Linked DNA regions of Homo sapiens: region 1 is linked to region 2. The links are contacts of gene promoters, found by promoter capture Hi-C in blood cells and fetal thymus (Javierre and others, 2016). All regions are on one chromosome and are shown on one strand. The core of a region is centred on a gene start or on the middle of the fragment in contact, and the rest is flanking DNA. Distances in the headings are between cores, read along the strand shown.

Region 1 (4,394 bases), core at 408-2,907, 360 kb after region 2:
GAGATTCTCCAGGACCTGCAGTCCGGGTTTTTCAGCCTTCAGGCCATTTTAGGCTTGAAGGCGGAGTTTTGTGGGGGGACCCTTGGCTGTCTCCTGTCTCTATGACATGTATTAAATAACTTCAGTCATAAAACAAATTTGAACCAAGCTGGGTAGTAGATGTCAGCCTTTCTGGTACACAGGTTGAGCATCCCGAATCTGAAATCTGAAACGCAAAATGCTCCAAAACTCAAAATGGTGTGAGTGTTGATGCTGTACTCGAAGGAAGTGCTACAGTGAACATTTCAAGTGTTCAGATTTGGGATGCTCAGCTGCTCAGTGTAATACAAGTATCCCCAAATCTGAAAAACTCTGAAATCTGAAACACTTCTGGTCCCAATCATGTTGGATAAAGGATACTCACCCTGCATTATCCTCTGCTCTTTATTGTAGGCTTAAAATACTCAATAATGAAATCCAATGAATCTACAAATGCTCGGCAGTGGCCTGGCTGCAAAGTGAGACCACTAAAGGTTTATTGTTCACAGTGACCTGGCCGCATATCTAGACAGTTGCTTTATGATGGGAAATCTATAGTAAAAACAGGCTTCAGAATAAGATAGATCTGCTGTCTTAAGCTCTTCACGTTACCTTTCCGAGCCTCAGTTTCTTCATCTTTCTAATGGGGAGGATAATGCCAGCCTCATGGCTCAATGATGGCTGTTCACAGGCCCTCCAGGAAAGGGAGCTCTAGCCCTTTGCAAGGAGCAGAGGCCTGAGAACAACCGTATGTGATGGTGTTGGAGAAGCCAGTGTGTGGGAAGCTTCTGCTAAGTCAGCAGCATCAGGGATTTGCAGGATGGCCTGACCAGGAAGCATGTTCCTTCCCCCAGCACTTCCTTCCTGCTGATGGAATTGACATGGGCTGGAATAGTGGAACACACACTCACACATACACACACGTATGCAAACAGCATCCTGCTGGTTTTGATGGATGCGATGCATTGATTGAAATACGATGATTCATCAGCATGAGGGTGGAGGTTCGTTCTCTGAGCTTGTCAGGAGGAAAAGTGACAGGGCCTACAAGCAAGTGCTGGAGTACTGGTTCTCAACCAGGGGTAATTTTTTTCCCCCAGCAGTCATTTGGCAAACTCTGGAGATATGTTTGATGGTTAGAATTCAGGAGATGCTACTGGCATCTAGTGGGTAGAGCCCAGGGATGCAGCTGAACAATCTACAATGCACCGGACAGGCCCTCTAGCAAAAAATTATCTGGTCCAAAATGTCAATAGCGCCAAGGTGGAGGCCCTTTAGAGGGGACCTAGGGGAGAGAAACCTCTTGGAGGAGCTGACATCCCATCCAGGACATGCAAACGGCCCATCAGGGATTAGAAGTATCTTCTAAAGGGCAGCTTCTCCGGAGCTCTGTCTGCAGAGAACACCTGCCCAATCCACTCTTATGAGTGGCCTGCCATATGTGGGAGCCTGGGGGCAAGAGATGGCTCTTTCAGCCTGAATTGGTCACCAAGAGCTCAGGAGCTGGTGTTCAAGGGCAATCCAGGACCCTAACAGGGGCATATGTGGGCACGCTCCAGCCTTGGCGTCCTCACCCATTTGATTACTAATTTTGCAAATGTGAGTTTGGCCCGCGCTGGAGCCATAGCTTACCCTTCAGGTTCATTTAACATTATCATGTGTACAGCCCCACAGGCTGTCCCCATTCCCAGGTGGGCTTGGCTGGGTTCTCTGTGCAGGGTCTCACCAGGCTGATGTGAATGTATTGGCCGGGCTGCACTCACATCTGGAAACTCAGGGGAAGAATTCACTTCCAAGTTCATACGGGTTGTTGGCAGAGTCCGGTTCTTGGTGGTTTTAGGACTGAGGTCCCTGTGTCTTTGCTGGTTGGCTGCCGGGGGCCACACTCTGCTCCCAGGGGCCTCGCGTAGCTGCACAGCCGGCAAATATGCACCGAGTCCATCCATGCTTTGGATCTCTCTGGCTTCCTCTTCCGCCATTAGCCAGAGACAGTTTTCTGCTTTTCACGGCTGTGTGATAGATCAGGGTCATCCAGAAAATTTCCCTCCCTGTCTTAAGGTCAGCTGTGCCGCATAGCACGATCGTGGGACTGTTGCATCCGACTCACAGATGCAGCTTCTGGGGTTAAGGGAGAACATCTTTTGGCACCATTTTTAGAATCCTGCCTATTGCAGTGGCTTCAAAGTCCTAAAGAATAGTCAGATCTGTGCCAACAGCCCCATCAACACCATGGCTTACTTCAGCAACAGCTTACTTGCCACTGCAGCAGATGACAGGGGTGCTTTTGGGCCCAGCTGGAGGGATGTCATCTGCCTGGAGCCAGGTTCTAGGACTCTGTTCCCTGCTTTTCTTGGGCTCTGCCTTCGAGGCCATAGTTCTAGAACCACCTTCCTATAACTCTCCAATACAGCAGCCCTCTGGGCATTTGGCCCAGGATTTCTGTGTTGACTCTGTTGCAGCTTCTTGTCCAAAAGGGCTCATGTCCAACAAGTGCAAGCTTCCCCTTGGGTGGTGACACCTTCCCATCTCTGCGACTGGCGTATATGACCTATTGGCATGACCCCGGCTGCCATTTATGCTTCACACATGTGTAGGAAGGGCTTTGGGAGTGGTCTTTCCTGAGTGGAGATGGCTCTGTCTCCGCACATGACTATCAGCATGGAAGTCAGTAGGATGGAGAGTGATGGGTCTGGAGTGGCTACTGTTCCCACAGGAATTAAGCAGTGACCATAGCAATGTCTCAGTAGAGGGTAATGAATAACATCAGTAGATGGTGGCCATGTTTTACCTTCTCAAATCAGTCACAATAGTCTCAATTCAGTGCATTATTTATGGGCACCCACTACTAGCACAGCCTACAGGTTTCATCAGGCATGCCAACTCCTGTTGATGTTGGCAGCTTACCCAGATGCTTTTACCAAGATAAATTGTGAGGCTGCATTTGGCTGATTGGAAAAAATGCTGTGATTGATTAGTGATGTCTGCCATGGCCAGGGAGGGGATAAATAGGCAAGTGAGACAGGTTTGTCCATGAGCCTAGGCCTACTGAGGATGAAGAGGTAAATGAGAAGGCTGCATTTTAGTGGTTCAGAGCATAGAGTTTAAAATCAGAAAGGCTGGGATTCTGCAGCCAGCTCTGCTCTGTATGTGGATGAGTTACCTAACTTTGCTGTGCCTCAGTCTTCTTATCTGTGAAATATGGACACTAATAATTGTGAGCACTAAATGAGAATGTAAATAAAGCACTCATTCTAGACCGTTCATGATTGCATAAGGATCCCTCAGAGGGGCCAGGCATGGTGGCTCACACCTGTAATCCTAGCACTTTGGGAGGCCGAGGCAGGTGGATCACTTGAGGTCAGGAGTTCAAAACCAGCCTGGCCAACATGGTAAAACCCTGTCTTTACTAAAAATACAAAAAAAAAAAAATTAGCCAGGCATGGTGGCAGGCACCTGTAATCCTAGCTACTCAGAGGCTGAGGCAGGAGAATGGTTTGAACCTGGGAGGCAGAGGTTCCAGTGAGCCAAGATCACGCCACTGCACCCCAGCCTGGGTGACAGAGCGAGACTCCATCTCAATAAATAAATACATAAATAAGGATCTCTCAGAGGTTGACAGTCTTCTGAGGGAGACAGATATGCAGATAAACACATGTAATAAGCATTAGAATTGCAGGATTGGGTATGGAGAGTGAGGCACAAGTAGGAAGTGCTCACTCTCCTGAGGTGGACATTGTCTGCAAGGGACTATATCAGCTGGGTATGGAAGGATGGGGAGGGGCTTGCTAGGTAGAAAAGAAAGGAAGGGACTTTCCAAGACAGGGAGGTGGGCAGGCAAAGGTCACAGGGCTAGGAAGTCAATGACAAGTTCAGACAAGCATTGGGCATGGCAGAGGAAGGAGGGAGCTGAGGGGACAGCAGGAAGCAAATCTGTGCATAAGATGGGCCATGCTGTTGAGGACTGCATGAGCTGCACTAAGGGATTTGGCCCTAACTGGGTGTGTGTGTGTTAGAACACGGTTTGGCTGCCATAAGGGCGAATCCTCAAAGCAGAAGGGTGTGGACAAGGCAGGAAAGTTCTTTTCTCTTATGGACATTCCCCCACTGGTGTAGCAGCTCTGCTGTGTGAGGTCTTAAGGGCTCTGCCTCCTTCTTCCTTGTTCTGCATGTTAGTTATCCATCACTGCTTCACAAATTACTGCACTTGGTGGGTTAGCGCAGCAGCCACATTTATCATCTCACAATTTCTGTGGGTTGGGAATCCAGTGTGATGAGGCTGGGTCCTCAGCTTCACGGTCTCCCATAGGCTGCAGTTGAGGTGTTGGCCTTGGTTGCCATCTTGTCTCAAGGCTTGATTGGGGAGAGCTCTGCTTCCA
Region 2 (4,385 bases), core at 1,886-4,385:
ATCGTTGAGGAAAACTTCAATTATCAAATGAAATAAATGTCAAACATTTAGTACTTTACCTCCAAACCCAGTATGTTGCTGAAACATGCTAATGTCCTGAGATATTAAAGAATTCCTACACAGAGAACAAACTTTTTAGTTCAAAAGAAAATCACGTAATGACCTATGTATCATATGAATTTTTTTTGTTTTGAGATGGAGTCTTGCTCTGTTGCCAGGCTGGAATGCAGTGGCGCAGTCTCGGCTTACCTCTGCCTCCTGGCCTCAAGCAATTCTCCTGCCTCAGCCTCCGGAGTAGCTGGGACTACAGGCGCCCACCACCACGCCCGGCTAATTTTTTGTATTTTTAGTAGAGACGGGGTTTCACCGTGTTAGCCAGCCTGGTCTCAATCTCCTGACCTCGTGATCTGCCCGCCTCAGCCTCCCAAAATGCTGGGATTACAGGCATGAGCCTCCGTGCCCAGCCATATGAAATTTTATTACCTATTTGGAAATAATATTCTGAACCTTAATAGCAAATCTTAGTTACATAAAATATTTCAAAAGTACTTTACATGGTAACTCAAACCAAACTGAGTAACTCAGTGATTATTCTTGTTAATCTGATCCAAATAGAATAATCAAGTATAAATCTGATTTAATTTCATCTTTAAAAAAACCGATTTTAGAATGGTGACATTATCTTAAACCACAATTTCAAATAGTTGTGCCTATTACCTCACATTATCAAATTAAAAAAACAAAAGCAGAGTAGCATTACAAAAGATTCCACTGTGCTTCAGAATTAACATCTGTTACTTCCCATTAATCTCAGGTGGTAGTTTCTAGTCTAAAAACAAACCAACACAATACTTGGTGGATAAATAATACCTACGACATAACATTCCGTTTTCTCTTGGTCCTGCTTTAAGAAACAAATACAAGAGGCTGGGCGCGGTGGCTCACACCTGTAATCCCAGCACTTTGGGAGGCCGAGGCAGGCGGATCACGAGGTCAGGATATCGAGACCATCCTGGCTAACACAGTGAAACCCCGTCTCTACTAAAAAGAACCCGGGAGGCGGGGCCTGCAGTGAGCCAAGATGGCGCCACCGCACTCCAGCCTGGGCAACAGAGCAAGACTCCGTCTCCAAAAGAAAAAAAAAAAAAAGAAAAAGAAAAAAGAAACAAATACAAGAAAATCAACCAGAAAACATATTCCACTGTTAAAGGCTTTAACAAGTCAGCCCCAGCAAACTTTGAAGACAAGAAAGCAAACCCCTGTGTTATCTATTCTCCAAGAGTAGAACAATGACTTTGGCTTCCCACTGTGCCTTAAATCTGGGCACTGGTGCCTTTACATGCCAAAATATGTAAGGTGATTTTAATAGACGTGCTGAAAGAGAAATTCCATAAACAAAATGGGGTCGTTAAAAGCAAATTACTGTCCCCTACCACTTCAAAGCAGCTACACCACCTGAGGGTGAGGCAGCTCAAAGGTACCAAGCTGGGCTGACTTCAAGTAATTTGATTGCATCTGAAAAGTTTTGTTTCCTTTATCAAACTTCATTTTGATCTTAAAAGATTGATTCACAAACCATTAAAAGGAAACATAAATTGTACTACATAAAAAAATTAAAACAGCAAAAAAAAAAATTGCAAAATTAGAATACAAGCCCTGAACGAGATCGGTTGTATGATAGTTACTTTCTTTAATTTAGAGCTTATAGAAATCAAAATTAAAAGATTAAACAGGAAAAATAAAAATTTTAAAACTCTGAGGGGCAAGGCATATGAAGGCAGTTATTCAAGGAAATACAATCAAAACAGCAATGGTTTTCACAAATGAGTACTTCCAACAATGTTAAGTCTAATGCTCAGGCGGGCTGGTTGATAGGGAAACAGGCACTCTGAAGAATGGAGAGTCCAAACTTGTACAACCTTTTTTTTCTTTAGAGCAATTTGGCAGTAACTGTCCATTTTAAGCACATTTCTGTCGACCCAGCAATCCTACCTCGAAGAATTTATCCCTAGTACACAAGTAAAAGTATGAACGCGTCTGCTGCCAACACTGATGCAATAAAGGAGCACCGCTATGTGTCAAGCACTTTTCTAAATTTAGCTGGAAAATATGGTGTGAACAAAGTCCTTGTTCTCATCGACAAAGCAAAAGCCAAAAAACAGAAACAACCAAAAGGCGCTGGAAATAATCCAGTTCATTGCCATGACCTGATTAAATAAATAACACAGCCATATGGAATGTTACCTAACTTCCAAAGTAATTTGCTATGTTTGTACATGTTAATATGAGAAAAAGTCTTCAAAGATTTCACAGCATGATCCCATTTGTGCAATCGTAAAACAAGTTACTTCGTACTGACTCCAGGATTTTTTGCAGTTTTTAAAAACACTGCATTAACACTTCCAAATTCGAACTCCACCCACCCCCCATCCCGGTTCTAACAATCACACCAAACATCCACCAGTGATCAGCGAAGATGCTCTTCTGCTTTCTCCTTTCCAGAAAGGTTATCGTGCCCAGCAATAGCTCCCTAACCCACACACACCAAACCTCATGCTTATGTAAGCACTCGGCACCGGAGCGGAGAGTGAGAGCTCTCGCTTGGACTCCCGGCTCTTGCCGCAGATCCTGACCGCCTAGAGGGAGGAGTGGGATCACGCTTTCAGCCTCGCTTCCAAGTAAAAGAGTGGCCAACCTTTCTACGGAAAGGCGGGGGACGGGAGTACTACATAATAAAGATAAATGAGAGTCTCACAAAACCCAAGGGCAGGAATGAGAACCCAGGACACGAAGAAAACCCAACAAGCATCCGCCTCTGCTTCCCTCGCAGGGTGGCCCTCTCCCCGGGCCTTCCTGTGTGAGGCAAAGAAGGCTGGACAGGGCCGCTTCGCGCAGCCAGCTGCCGACACCCGGGCCGGGGAAGCCAGCTCATCTCATTCTTCGGGGAGGGAGACCTGGTGCGCTACCTCTCGGAGAAGCTTTTCACCAGCAGCCACACGATGAGCGGCAGGTTCTCGCGCTCGTTGTAGGTAGGTAAAAGCACCGAATATTTGTTCTGTCGTGGACTGCGCACTTCCAGCTCCCGCCGAGACCTGCGAGGACTACGACTGACTTCCAAGGAGGCCATGGCGGAACTGAGCCAGATGCCGGAAGCGGAATTACGTAATGTGGCGCGGAAAAGGACGGGTCGGACCGTACCAAATTCGGAAGCGGGGGATGACCTGTGTGATTGATCGCTAGTTCTTCTAGGGCCATTGCGTGGTTCAATTAGAAATATTCTGGATTTATACATCTTTGAAGTTTAATCTGAAGGTTTCTTCAGGAAGTAAATATCTATTCATCACCTTTTCCCAAGCTCCATAAAGTTTTTTAGTTTATCCCAGTCGCTAGGAGACAGAAGACGGAAGCGGAAATGCCTTTCACGACAACTTCCGGAAGAGGTCGCCATGGCTTCCCGGGAGGAGGTACTCGCCTTACAAGCTGAAGTTGCCCAACGTGAGGAGGAATTGAATTCGCTGAAGCAGAAGCTGGCGTCGGCTCTTTTGGCTGAGCAGGAACCGCAGCCAGAACGGCTGGTTCCGGTGTCGCCGCTGCCGCCGAAGGCCGCTCTGTCCCGAGATGAGATTCTGCGCTATAGCCGGCAGCTAGTGCTGCCCGAGCTGGGCGTGCACGGACAGCTGCGCCTGGGGACCGCGTGCGTGCTAATCGTGGGCTGCGGTGGGCTCGGCTGTCCACTAGCGCAGTACTTGGCAGCGGCCGGCGTGGGCCGCCTTGGCCTTGTGGACTATGACGTGGTAGAGATGAGCAACCTGGCCCGCCAAGTGCTGCATGGCGAGGCACTGGCTGGCCAGGCCAAGGCCTTTTCGGCCGCCGCCTCGCTGCGCCGCCTCAATTCGGCAGTGGAATGCGTGCCGTACACTCAGGCCCTTACGCCAGCCACTGCCCTAGACCTGGTCCGCCGATATGATGTGGTGGCTGACTGCTCGGACAACGTGCCCACTCGCTACCTGGTTAATGACGCATGTGTGCTGGCGGGTCGGCCCCTCGTGTCTGCCAGTGCCTTGCGCTTCGAGGGCCAAATCACAGTCTACCATTATGACGGTGGCCCTTGCTATCGCTGCATATTCCCCCAACCACCCCCAGCGGAGACAGTGACCAACTGCGCGGACGGCGGGGTGCTCGGTGTCGTTACCGGGGTCCTGGGCTGCCTGCAGGCCTTGGAAGTGCTGAAAATCGCTGCGGGTCTGGGCCCCTCTTACAGTGGCAGCTTGTTGCTCTTTGATGCCCTGAGAGGGCATTTCCGCTCTATTCGGCTGCGGAGCCGCAGGCTCGACTGTGCAGCTTGCGGGGAACGGCCCACTGTGACTGATCTGCTGGACTATGAA

What was found. The method cuts DNA at HindIII sites, captures the fragments that hold promoters and counts their contacts. A CHiCAGO score of 5 or more calls a contact.
Region 1: a fragment that was not itself captured here is called in contact with the fragment with the promoter of DPM1 in region 2 in 1 of 17 cell types (endothelial precursors); the score reaches 5.5 in endothelial precursors.

What each region holds. Positions count from the first base shown.
Region 1 is chr20:51,312,614-51,317,007 of GRCh38, forward strand. No RefSeq gene overlaps it. Among named protein-coding and RNA genes, the nearest start is that of MIR3194, 140 kb to the right of the region's middle. RefSeq lists an enhancer at 1-289. The HindIII fragment of the contact is 1,712 bases long and covers 802-2,513 here.
Region 2 is chr20:50,955,397-50,959,781 of GRCh38, forward strand. DPM1 (dolichyl-phosphate mannosyltransferase subunit 1, catalytic) reads right to left here and starts at 3,136. Exons shown (of 9, transcript NM_003859.3): 1 at 2,967-3,136. The coding sequence starts at 3,127. It overlaps MOCS3 (molybdenum cofactor synthesis 3), which reads left to right and starts at 3,422. Exons shown (of 1, transcript NM_014484.5): 1 at 3,422-4,385. The coding sequence starts at 3,447. RefSeq lists enhancers at 2,893-3,382, 3,595-4,205. The HindIII fragment of the contact is 3,207 bases long and covers 2,977-4,385 here.